4 separate regions of the Homo sapiens genome follow, and all the other regions are linked to region 3. Evidence: promoter capture Hi-C in 16 types of primary human blood cells and fetal thymus (Javierre and others, 2016). All regions are on one chromosome and are shown on one strand. Each heading gives the region's core, a stretch centred on a gene start or on the middle of the fragment in contact. The rest is flanking DNA. Distances are from core to core; before and after follow the strand shown. Region 1 overlaps ZNF561-AS1 (ZNF561 antisense RNA 1). Region 2 overlaps ZNF561 (zinc finger protein 561). Region 3 holds the start of ZNF846 (zinc finger protein 846). Region 4 holds the start of ZNF426 (zinc finger protein 426).

What was found. The method cuts DNA at HindIII sites, captures the fragments that hold promoters and counts their contacts. A CHiCAGO score of 5 or more calls a contact.
Region 1: a fragment that was not itself captured here is called in contact with the fragment with the promoter of ZNF846 in region 3 in 16 of 17 cell types (non-activated CD4 T cells, fetal thymus, megakaryocytes and 13 more); the score reaches 9.9 in non-activated CD4 T cells.
Region 2: a fragment that was not itself captured here is called in contact with the fragment with the promoter of ZNF846 in region 3 in 1 of 17 cell types (naive CD4 T cells); the score reaches 5.0 in naive CD4 T cells.
Region 4: the fragment with the promoter of ZNF426 here is called in contact with the fragment with the promoter of ZNF846 in region 3 in 5 of 17 cell types (naive CD8 T cells, total B cells, total CD4 T cells and 2 more); the score reaches 9.3 in naive CD8 T cells.

The regions. Positions count from the first base shown.
Region 1 is chr19:9,628,154-9,631,365 of GRCh38, forward strand. All of the region lies in intron 2 of ZNF561-AS1 (ZNF561 antisense RNA 1), which reads left to right. Among named protein-coding and RNA genes, the nearest start is that of ZNF561-AS1, 8.3 kb to the left of the region's middle. The HindIII fragment of the contact is 4,891 bases long and covers 1-3,212 here.
Region 2 is chr19:9,611,556-9,614,644 of GRCh38, forward strand. It overlaps ZNF561 (zinc finger protein 561), which reads right to left. Exons shown (of 6, transcript NM_152289.3): 5 at 2,466-2,548. Among named protein-coding and RNA genes, the nearest start is that of ZNF561, 8.1 kb to the right of the region's middle. The HindIII fragment of the contact is 9,023 bases long and covers 1-3,089 here.
Region 3 is chr19:9,767,455-9,770,454 of GRCh38, forward strand. It overlaps ZNF846 (zinc finger protein 846), which reads right to left and starts at 1,284. Exons shown (of 6, transcript NM_001077624.3): 1 at 835-1,284. RefSeq lists a silencer at 1,099-1,268 and enhancers at 1,212-2,077, 1,349-1,568. The HindIII fragment of the contact is 9,482 bases long and covers 1-3,000 here.
Region 4 is chr19:9,537,269-9,540,318 of GRCh38, forward strand. ZNF426 (zinc finger protein 426) reads right to left here and starts at 1,377. Exons shown (of 8, transcript NM_024106.3): 1 at 1,307-1,377; 2 at 991-1,077. It overlaps ZNF426-DT (ZNF426 divergent transcript), which reads left to right and starts at 1,398. Exons shown (of 2, transcript NR_134921.1): 1 at 1,398-1,730; 2 at 2,138-2,462. RefSeq lists enhancers at 683-1,418, 1,425-1,474, 1,675-1,744, 2,399-3,050. The HindIII fragment of the contact is 12,585 bases long and covers 1-3,050 here.

The DNA of each region.
Region 1 (3,212 bases), core at 476-2,975, 140 kb before region 3:
TCAGAAACTTCAAAAGGGAACTCAAACCATTGTTAGATGACCCTTATTGGGTAGCAGATCAAATTGATCAATTTTTAGGGCCACAGTTGTATACTTGGGCTGAACTAATGTCCATTTTAGATATTCTTTTCTCAGGGGAGGAAAGGACTGTGATCCACAGGGCCACTGTGATAGTCAGGGAACGTGAACATCCTCCTGGCCAAAACGTTCTGCAGCGGACCAAAAATTTCTGTTCCAAGACCCTCAATGGGACAATCACAATGCAGCTCACCAAGAAAATATGAGGGATCTCGGGGAAATGATAATTAAAGGAATTCGGGAACCAGTACCCTGAACTCAAAATATTTCCCGAGCATTCAACATACAACAAAGAAAGGAAGAAGAGCTCATGGAATTTTTAAACAGACTCTAAGAGCAAGTTAGAAAATACGCAGGCTTAGAAATAAGAAGATCCACTTCGGCAAGGATTGTTAAAACTCCACTTTGTCACCAACATTTGGCCAGAAATTACAAAAAAATTGTCAAAAAAATAGAGAATTGGAAAGATAGCTCCATAGAAGAACTTCTAAAGGAGGCCCAAAAGGTATATATGAGAAAAGACAAGGAAAGCAGAAACAAAAAGCAAAAATTCCACTGCCCACCCTTCAACAAGGGACACAAGGAAATAGGTCCCATAAATGTTCTAAGCCACTAGCTGCAAAGTCACATACAGGAAAGAAAAGGGATAAAACCTGGGGACCTAACGGCAAGAAGGGAAAAGGGGGAAAATAAATGTTTCAGATGTGGGAAACTGGGACACTTTAAGACAGAATGTCCCGAATGAGAAAGAGAGAGAAATCCTCCCACTCATGACTTTTGAAGAAGAATAGGGGGTTCAGAGGCTCTGTCTCTTTTATCTCAAATCCCACCAATAGCCCTTGATAAATCTACAGGTGGGACCCAAGCTAGAAATTTTCACTTTCCTAATAGATTCAGGAGTAGCTCGCTCCTCTGTTTGCTACCTTTCATCAAATGTAGCCTGCTCTGCAGAGGAGCTGTTCGTCACGGTGGTAAAGGGGGAAAGGTTTAGAACAAAAATTTTGGAGGAAACAGAAGTTAAATTCAAGAATAGATCAGCCGCCATTAAATTCATGTTAATCCCTGATGCAGGGACAAATTCGTTAGGAAGGGACTTAATGTTTAAATTGGGGATAGGTCTATATGTTAATCAGGGAAAATTATTTACTTCCTTAAACTTGCTTACCGCCCCTAAAGAAAGCCAAATCCACCCTGATGTGTGGTTAAAGGAGGGAAATCAAGGAAGATTCAAGTTCCGCCAATTCATATAAAACGAAAACCTCCTGGGGAAATAGTAAAAAGAAAACAACACCCCATTCCCCTAGAAGGCAGAATGGGTTTAAAACCTATAATCAAAGGTCTCATCCATGACAGACTCCTTGAACCCTGTATGCCTCCTTATAACACTCTAATGTTGCCTGTAAAAAAGTCACATGGATCACGGCTAGTGCAAGATATCTGGGCTATTAACCAAATAGTCCAGACTACTCACCCTGTGGTCCCCAACCCTTATACCATTATCAGCAAAATCCCATATGACCACCAATGGTTCATGGTAATAGACCTAAAAGATGCCTTTTGGGCTTGCCCCTTAGCAGAGGACAGCCAGGACATGTTTGCTTTCAAATGGGAGGACCCTCACTCCAGTTGGAAGCAACAGTACTGATGGACAGTCCTGCCCCAAGAGTTTGTGGACTCCCCAAATCTATTTGGTCAAATTCTAGAACAAGTCCTAGAGAATTTTCCCCTCCCCTCATCCATATATCCGCTCCAATATGTGGATGACCTGCTAATTTCAGGAGGCACCAAGGGCTGGGTAACAGCAGTATCAATTAACTTTCTAAATTTTCTGAGGGAACGCGGATTGCTGGTCTCAAGGAGTAAACTCGTTTGTGGAACCTGAGATAAAATACCTAGGATACTTAATAAGCAAAGGCAAACAGAGATTAGGCCCCAAACGAACTGAAGGAATCATAGCCGTACCTTTGCCTGAAACAAAATAAGGGCTTAGGAAATTCTGGGGGTTGACTGGATATTGTCGCTTATGGATTGACTTTATGCTTTAAAAACAAAGCCTCTATGCCTGAAACTTACTCAAGAGAGACCTGATCCTCTTCTTTGGACACCACGGGAGGTCCAACAAGTAGAGGAATTAAAACACCTGCTCATAACTGCCTTAGTTCTACCTTCCCTAGAACAGCCATTCCACCTCTTCGTCAATGTGAATAAAGGGATAGCTCTAGGGGTGCTCACCCAAACACACGGGGGCCACCGGCAGCCTATAGCCTTTCTGTCAAAAATTCTTGACCCACTAACCCACAGGTGGCCCGAGTGTATTTAATCTGTTGCAGCAACTGCCCTATTTACAGAGGAAAGCAGGAAGATAACCTTTGGGGGAAACCTCACTGTAAACACAACCCATCAGGTTAGAACCATCCTAAACCAAAAAGCAGGCAGATGGCTTACCGATTCAAGAATCTTAAAATATGAAGCTATCTTACTAGAAAAAGATGATTTAACCCTAACCACAGAAAAAACACTCAACCCTGCCGCTTTCCTAATGGGAAATCCAATCCCCAGGACCCTGAACATAAATGTCTGGATCTAATCTGTTATCAAACTAAAGTCAGGCTTGATCTAAGCGAGACCCCATTCAAAACGGGGCAACACCTGTTTATAGATGGCTCCTCCCAGGTATTTGAAGAGAAAAGACACAATGGGTACTCGGTAGTCAATGGGGAAGCCCTCACAGAGGTAAAGTCAGGAAGACTGCCCAATAACTGGTCCACCCAAACATGTGAATTGTTCACATTAAATCAAGCCATAACTGGGAAAGGGACTATTTACACTGACTCCAAATATGCCTTCGGGGTAGTCCATACTTTTGGAAAGATCTGGACTGAATAAAAGGCCAGGACCTTGTCCACAAGGAGTTAATCACTCAGGTATTGGAAAATCTCCAGCTACCAGAAGAGATAGCCATCCTGCGTGTCCCAGGACACCAGAGAAATATTTCTTTCAAAAGCCAAGGAAATAAACTTGCAGACCAAATAGCCAAACAAGCTGCCTCTTCTCCCAAAATGCCCATTTTTCACCTAACCCCTTGTCTTTCTTCCCCAACTGCAATTCACATCTTCTCTCCCACTGAAAAAGAG
Region 2 (3,089 bases), core at 554-3,053, 160 kb before region 3:
CCTGCCTCAGCCTCCCGAGTAGCTAGGAATACAGGTGTGCACCACTGCACCTGGCTAATTTTTCTGTTTTGTAGAAACAAGGTTTTGCCAAGTTACCCAGGCTGGTCTCAAACTCCTAAGCTCAGGTGATCTGCCTGCCTCGGCCTCCCAAAGTGGTGATATTACAGGCATGACCCACCACACCCAGTATGTTTCACTTTTTTCAGAGTTGGGGTTTTGCTCCATTGCCTGGACTATAGTGCACTGGTGTGATCATGGCTCTCTGTAACCTCAAACTCCTGGCTGAGTTCAAGTGATCATCCTGCCTTAGCTTCCTGTGTAGCTAGAACTATTTGAATGCACCCTCATGTCTGGCCAATCTTTCAGTTTGTTTGTTTATTTATTTATTTAGAGACAGAGTCTTGCTCTGTAGCCCAGGCTGGAGTGCAATGGCATGATTTCGGCTCGTTGCAAACTCTGCCTCCCAGGTTCAAGTGATTCTCCTGCCTCAGCCTCCTGAGTAGCTGGGATTACAGGCATGGGTCACCATGCCTGGCTAATTTTTGTAGTTTTAGTAGAGACAGGGTTTCACCATGTTGGCCAGGCTGGTTTTGAACCCCTGACCTCAGATGATCTGCCTGCCTTGGCCTCCCAAAGTGCTGAGATTACAGGGGTGAGCCACCATGCCCCACCTCAGTTTATTTATTTTTGAGATGTAGTCTCACTTTGGCTGGAGTGCAAGTGGCGAGATCTTGGCTCACTGCAACCTCCACCTCCTAGGCTCAAGTGATTCTCATGCATCAGCCTCGCGAATAGCTGGGATTACAGGCAGGTGTAGCCACATCCAGCTAATTTTGTTATTTTTTGTAGAGATGGGGTTTCCCCATGTTCGCCAGGCTGGTCTTGAACTGCTGACCTCATGATCTGCCTGCCTCAACCTCCCAAATTGCTGGGATTACAGGCGTGAGCCACCACACCCAGCCTCAATTTATTTTTATAGAGACAAAGTCTTACTATGTAGCCTAGGCTGATCTCAAACTCTTCACAAAACCCCACTGCCTCAGCCTCCCAAAGTGCTGGGATTACAGCCATGAGCTACCATGTCAGCCTACTTTGATAATTATAATTTTTACAATTTTTCTTCCTTGTTTTTATTCCCTGACTTCTTGATTTCTTCCAGATTGAATGATGGGCCCTTTTGCCAGAATTCTACGCCACTGGCTCTAATTGTTCAAAAAAAGAAAACTGTAGGGTTTTTTTATTATTATGCAGGGTGGTTTGAGACAAGGTCTCACTCTGTCACCCAGGCTGGGTACCATGGCATAATCACAGCTCACTGTGGCCTTAATCTCCCAGGCTGAAGCCATCATCCTGCCTCAGTCCCCCAAGGAGCTTGGATTACAGGTGCATGCCAACACGCCCTGCTAATTTTTTATTCCTTGTAGAGACAGGGTCTCTGTTGACCAGGCTGGTCTTGAACTCCTAGGCTCAAGTGATTCTCCTGCCTCAGCTTCCCAAAGTGCTGGGATTACAGGTGTCAGCCATTGCACCCAGTCAAATAGTGTAGATTTTCATGAAACTGTGTAAATCCTCAATGTCTAGTTACTTATGTGGGAATGTGTACTTGTGGGTATTTTGAGGTGACAAGTTATACAGATATGGAATATCATAAAATTCATCACATTCAGACTATCTCTCCAGAGATCCTGCTCCCTCAGTGGTGCAGAATTCTTCTCTAATTCTCTCAAGTATCTCTCATTTGTGCAGTTTCTTTTTCACTGCAAACTCCACCTCCTGGGTTTAAGCAATTCTGCCTCAGCCTCCCATGTATCTGGGATTACAGGTGCCTGCCACCACACCTGGCTAACTTTGTATTTTTAGTAGAGATAAGAGTTTCATTACATTGGCCAGGCTGGTCTCGAAGTGCTAATCTCAAGTGATCCACGTGCCTAGGCCTCCCAAAGGGATGGGATTACAGACTCAGTTTCTTTTCTTTATTTCTGAGACAGAGTCTCACTCGGTCAACCAGGCTGGAATGCAGTGGTGCAATCTCAGCTCATTGCAACCTCTGCCTCTGTGTTCATGCCATTCTCCTGTCTCAGCCTCCCAAGTAACTGGTATGACAGGTGCCCACCACCACACTCGGCTAATTTTGTATTCTTAGTAGAGATGGAGTTTCACCATGTCGGCCAGCCTGGTCTCAAACTCCTGACCTCAAGTGATCCACCCATCTCGGCCTCCCAAAATGTTGGGATTACAGGTGTGAGTCACCACATTCACCTTCTTTTTAAAATCAGAGATGGGATCTTACTATACTGCCTAGGCTGGTCTTGAACTCTTGGGCTCAAATGAGACCCCCACTTCAGCCTCCCAAATAGCTGGGATTACAGATGTAAGCCACACCTCTGACTGAGCTGATTTTCTAGAATGGAATTCTCTATCTTTTCTAAGAGAGGAAATTAAGAAATATCCCTCATGAATCTTACCATTTGTATCCCACTGAATATTTGATTCTTCAAAAAACCCTGCTGAAGTGATGACCGTTTGGTTCTAGGTTGTATTTCCCATTCTAAAGTTAAGCAGAAAAAGAAACGTAAGGATTTAGAGAAGAAATATTCATTTAAAATGAGTCATTTTTACTTGTTTTCAAATTAAACACAGCAATAAAATAAAAGCCAGAGAACCTTGAGGATTTTGGTACATCAAAAATTTGGCTATAATGATGTGGGGTTTATTACATAACTGATGTGTTTAGATAGTTTATTACAAACTACTTCTGTAAAAATTAAAAATGCCGGGAGTGGTGGCTCACACCTGTAATCCCAGCACTTTGGGAGGCTGAGGCGGGTGGATCACTTGAGGTCAGGAGTTCGAGACCAGCCTGACCAACATGGAGAAACCCCATCTCTACTAAAAATACAAAATTAGCCAGGCATGGTGGCGCATGCCTATAATCCCAGCTACTTGTGAGGCTGAGGCAGTATTGCTTGAACCTGGGAGGCAGAAGTTGCAGTGAGCTGAGATCATGCCATTGCACTCCAGCCTGGGTGACAGAGCAAGACTTCAGAAAAGAAAAGAAAATTAAAGCTGATGGAAAACAGAAAGAGTAG
Region 3 (3,000 bases), core at 34-2,533:
CAAGAGATGCAAAGAAACAGAAAACATGCAAAATATTAACAAATGATCAGTCTACAACAAGGATATATAATAGGTGTTCAATATTCTGGCCTTTCACATTTTCTTTGGTTTAGAATATTCAATCTACAGATAGCCTGGGCAACAAACCAAGACCCTGTCTTTAAAACGTAAATAAATAAATAAAAATATATGAGGGGGAAGGCCAGGCGCGGTGGCTTATACCTGTAATTCCAGCACTTTGGGAGTCCGAGGAGGGTGGATCACGAGGTCAGGAGTTCGAGACCAGCCCAACCAACATGGTGAAACCCCGTCTCTACTAAAAATGCAAAATTAGCCGGGCGTGGTGGCACATGCCTGTAATCCCAGTTACTCAGCATGCTGAGGCAGGAGAATCGCTTGGACCGGGAGACAGAGTTTACAGTGAGCCTATATCACGCCATTGCACTCCAGCCTGGGCAATAAGAGCGAAACTCCGTCTCAAAATATGTATATATACGAGAGGAAAAACGCTGAATCAAAACATGTCTCTTTCACAGTTAATACAACTGTAATTTCTGATACTGGTATAATGAAGGCGGCATCCTACTTCCTGGAAGCCCCTCCGTTTTGAAGCTCTTTGGGAGGTACTGACCTAGGAAGTTCAGCTGCTTTTGATCTCAAAAACACAGCGGAGTATTGCTACTTTGCTTTATAACTGTGGCAATATTTGCTTTTATTTCTATAAACCTACAACTCCTGCACACTTGACAAAGCATTTAACTGCTGAGCAATTTCGCAAACTTCAATAAGCGATGCCCTCCCACAGCCAGATCATCTCCTCCGTCCAGGGCTCACCGGAACGCACTGCAATCGCCCTGTCGGTGACAAGAGGACGCTGGGGCCCTTTTCCACAACAGCTGAGATGCTTTTCCTTCTGGAGAAAGGACACAAAGGTTGACTGGCTGCTTTTAAACAGAGGGGCACGGTGGTTGGAGAAAAAAACACGTCTCCACCGGGGACCCTGGGCCAGGCCCAGACTGATGCGGGCGCAGCGGGAAGAGGCGCTCAGAAGAGAAGGCGGGAACCCCCCGCCTCGGGGTCCTGGCGGGGAGGAGGCGCCGCTTCTCCGGAGCAGCAGCGGGAGGCCGGCGCGTCTCAGACCTAGCAGAAGTCCGGAGCGTCACCCTCCGACCCTCGCTCCGCCTCCCGCTAGGCCCTCCTGCCCCGCCCTGCCTAGGTTGAGCATGAGCGCTGGCTGAGGTGAAAACCCAGCTAGGAAGCTGCTGGAGAGCGGGGAATACGTATAGCTGCGCGCCGGCTGGCACTTCCGCTTCCGGTTGCGCACGGCATTAAGTGTAGGGGCCGAGCCCCAAGAGCTTTGGAATGAGGATGATGTGAAGCTGAGAGAAGAGCTGGGGCCACCTCTTCGACACGCGTACAGAAAAGTCCCGTTTTCTCGCATCCCAGGTGGACCAGGATCCAGATCAATCTGTCGATATTGGGAACGACGCCGGACCAGGAAACCCAGCGCCAAGGGCCGGGTTGGAGGCGGGGACTGGCGCAGCGGGCGGGGCACGCGTGGAGGCGTCACCTAAGGCTTCGATTGCAGACAGCGGGATGCTCATCGAGTGCTTTTCTTTTCTTTTTTAATTTCTCTTTTTAGTTTTTTGAGATAAGGCTCCGGTCTGTCGCCTAGGCTGGAGTGCAGTGGCTCGGTCATAGATCATTGCAGCCTGGAATTCCTGCGCTGAAGCTATCCTCCCGCCTCGGCCTCCGGAGTAGCTTGGACCACAGTTGGGCCCATCACGCCCAGCTAAGTTATCTTTTTCTAGACACTTGGGTCTCACTGTGTTCCCTAGGCTGGTCTCGAACTCCTGAGCCTAAAGGATCCTCCCCCCTCGGCCTCCCAAGCAGCTTGGACCACAGGTGTGTGCCACCACGCCTGGCTAATTTATTTTTATTTTATTTTTATTTTTTTGTAGAGACAGGGTCTCTCTTTGTTACCCAGGCTGATCTGGAACTCCTGGGCTCCAGTGATCCTTCCACCTTGGCCTCCCAAAGTGCTGGGATTATAGGCGTGAGCCACCACCCTAGGGAAATTCTTTTCTGCAGGATTTTCTCCTTGTTTCTTCAACCCTCTGCAGGGATATAAACATATTTACAAAGATAATCCCGCTGTAGTCCTAGCTACTGCGGGAGAATCGCTTGAGCCCAGGAGTTCGAGACCAGCGACACCCTGTTTGAAAGATTAACCTGATGGGGCTGGGGGCAGTGGCTCACGCCTGTAATCCCAGCACTTTGGGAAGCCGAGGCGGGTGGAACACGTGAGTTCAGGAGTTCGAGACCAGCCTGGCCAACATGCCGAAACCCCATCTCTACTAAAAATATTTTTTAAAAAATAGCCGGGTGTGGTGGTGGGCGCCTGTAATCCCAGCTACTCGAGAGGCTGAGGCAGGAGAATTGCTTGAACCTAGGAGACTGAGGTTGCAGTGAGCTGATACGATGCCACAGTACTCCAGCCTGGGCGACAGAGTGAGACTCCGTCTCAAAAAAAAAAAAAAAAAGATTAACCTGTTAATCCATAAAATGCTCTGTGCCTCTGATACATTCAGTTCCTTCTTTAGGCCTTTAGTTTTGTTGTGATACAATTATCATAGCATACAATTAACCTGTTTAAAGTGTACAGTTTCGTGGCTTTTTGTATATTCATATATTTGTGCATCGATCATCACAATCAATTTTAGAACATTTTCATGACCACAAAAATAAACCCAGTACCCTAGCCATGATCACCCAATCTGCTCATCCAGCCCCACCCCCACCCCCAGAGTCCAAAGCAACAGCTAATCTTTCTGTCTGTATAGATTGCCTACTGTAGATATTGCCTGTAGAATTAGAATATAAAACACGTGGTGTTTGGCTTGTTTCATTCAATGTTTTCAAGGTTCATCCAATTAGCATGTATCAGTACTTAATTTTTTTTTACTAAATAAGATTCCATTGTATGGCTGTATCATAACA
Region 4 (3,050 bases), core at 127-2,626, 230 kb before region 3:
TTCACAAAAACTCTATAGGCCTCCTTCTACCAATAAGACTAAAACCCTAAAGTCACAAAAACCACAGTTCTGGACTCCTGGTATAGATCACACCTACTCCCAGGGGTCTCAAACTAGGGGTCCTAGGGCTGACTAGGCCCACAAATATTCAGTTTGGTGGCATCTGTATAGAATATTTAACTCTTTTTTTTTTTTTTTTTTTGGAGAGATGGAGTCTTGCTATGTTGCCCAGGCTGGTCTTAAACTCCTGGGCTCAAGAGATCTTCCTGCCTCAGCCTCTCAAAGTGCTGGGATCACAGGTGTGAGCCACTGTACCCAGCCAGCTTTTTTTTTTTTTCATTGATATACAATCAATGTAGCTTAAAATGCACACATCCTTCGTTTCTCTTTTTTTTCTTTTGAGACGGAGGCTCACTCTGTCTCCCAGGCTGGAGTGCAGTGGCACGATCTCAGCTCACTGCAACGTCCGCCTCCTGGGTTCAAGTGATTCTCCTGCCTTAGTCTCCCAAATAGCTGAGATTCCAAGACCCCACCACCACGCTCGGCTAATTTTTTTTCTATTTTTAGTAGAGACGGGGTTTCACCATCTTAGCCAGGCTGGTTTCAAACTCCTTAATCCAACCATCCTGTTCATTGTAAATTTGATTATTGTGATACTAGAATAATAAAGCCTTCATCCTTTCCCTCTGGAGGTCTGATTAAGAAGCTCTCTTGGGATGTACAGGCCTAGGAACTCCATTCGAAGATAATGAATTATTATTCTTAGTATTCTTTAGCAGAAAGACTTGCGGTCTACAAACGTTTATATTCACATACACAAATACGCACACCCTATAAACCTAAAAAGCATCTTTATCTTTCGCCATGAAAGTAATGGTCAAAAATAAAACACAACACAATAAGACGAAACCAAACTTACAGATGAAACATTCGTTTGCATAAGAGAAGACAGAAAAGGCCCCCTAGAACCAACTTTCACCCAGTGCTCACCGGAACACTCAGAAATCGCCAGGTCCCTGAACCGGGAAGATCCTGGGGACGGAGCCAACGCGGATGCAAAAGGCAGCAATTATTTTCCTGCCGGAAAAAAATTCACAAACGCTGCTTTGGAGGCCTTTGGAGAGGGGCGCACAGATGAAAACACCCTGCGGACACCGTAACTATAAACCCGACTCCTCCCGAGGAGCGACGGTCCGAGCGGACGCTAGCGGGCCCAGCAGACACGAGCAGAGCGGGCCAGGCCTCTCTAACGTCCGGGCCAAACCCGTCCTTCACCCCAAAACCAGTTCATCTCCTCGGAACTCACCCAGGCCAGTGAGGCCTTAACTCTGAAAGGCAAAAAGACTCTCAGGCGCTCACAGCCGGCGTCACAAAAGGAACGGCGCACCGCTGACGTCATTTACGCTCTCCGCCTCGGGCCAGGCGGGGTTTCGGGACTAGGGTTTCTGCCGTGTAATACCTCCTCGAGGCAGAAAAATTCTACTTTCCATCTGCTTGGCTGCGGAGGACCTTGGGGTGGGCTCAGCGTGGGGGCTGCAGGCAGAAATGGGTCCAGAAGGCAAGGTCGAGGTTAGAGCCAAGCCTGTGGGCAGGGCTACGGGCAGGGGGCGGGGAGGAATGTGGGTCCAGGCCCAGAGGAAAAGGTTGAAGTTATAGCCAGGCCTGTGGGCGAGGCCGCAGCAGGGCGGCCATAGGGGAAGGAGCCAATGTGTTATGCATGTAGAAAATAGGTAACTACGTCTTTTGCTCTGTTACTATTTCAACATTTGATGTAAAAAACATTTTCTATGCAGCTAAAAGAATTGTTTTTAAAAATAATTTCTAGGTTTTCTGCCTTGCTTTAAAACATCTTTTCTTTTTTTTTGAGACAAAATCTCACTCTGTCACCAAGGCTGGAGTTCAGTGGAGCCATCTCAGCTCACTGCAACCTCCACCTCCCAGGTTCAAGCGATTCTCCTGCCTCATCCTCCCAAGTAGCTGGAATTACAGGTGCATGCTGCCACACCCTGCTAATTTTTGTATTTTTAGTAGAGGCAGGGTTTTGCCATGCTGGCCAGGCTGGTCTTGAACTACTTGTCAGGCCTCTGAGCCCAAGTTAAATCATCATAAACCCTGTCACCTGCACGTATACATCCAGATGGCCTGGAGCAACTGAAGAACCACAAAAGAAGTGAAACAGCCAGTTCCTGCCTTAACTGATGACGTTCCACCATTGTGATTTGTTGCTGCCCCACCCCAACTGATCTCTTGACCTTGTGACATTCTTCTTCTGGACGAGTCTCAGGAGTTCCCCACCGAGCACCTTGTGACCCCCGGCCCTGCCAGCAAAAGATAACCACCTTTAACTTTCCACTACCTACCCAAATCCTATAAAACTGCCCCACCCCTATCTCCCTTTGCTGACCCCTTTCTCGGACTCAGCCCACTTGCACCCAAGTGAATAAACAGCCTTGTTGCTAACACAAAGCCTATTGGTGGTCTCTTCACATGGATGTGTGTAACATTTGGTTCCGAAACCTGGGACAGGGGGACTCCCTTGGGAGACTGGCCCCGTCCTCACCCTCACTCCGTGAGGAGCTCCACCTACTACCTCGGGTCCTCAGACTAGCCCAAGGAACATCTCACCAATTTCAAATTGGGTAAGCAGTCTCTTCACTCTCTTCTCCAGCCTCTCTCACTACCCTTCCATCTCTCTGTCCTTCCAATTCCAGTTCTTTTTCCTCTCCAGTAGAGACAAAGGAGACACATTTTATCTGTGGACCCAAAACTCCAGCTCCAGTCACGGACTCAGGAAGACAGTCTTTCCTTGGTGGCTAATCACTGTAGGGATACCTGCCTGATTATTCACCTACATTCCATTGGTGTCTGATCACTGTGGGGATGCCTGCCTTGATCATTCACCCACATTCCCTTGGTGGCAAGTCAATTGCAGGGCTGCCTGCTTTGGCTGCTTACCCACATTACAGCCCAGGGCTGCTCACCCCCACCCCACTCCACTGCCTTCTCCATGTCTCTACCTTTCTCTTTAAACTTACCTCCTTCACTATGGG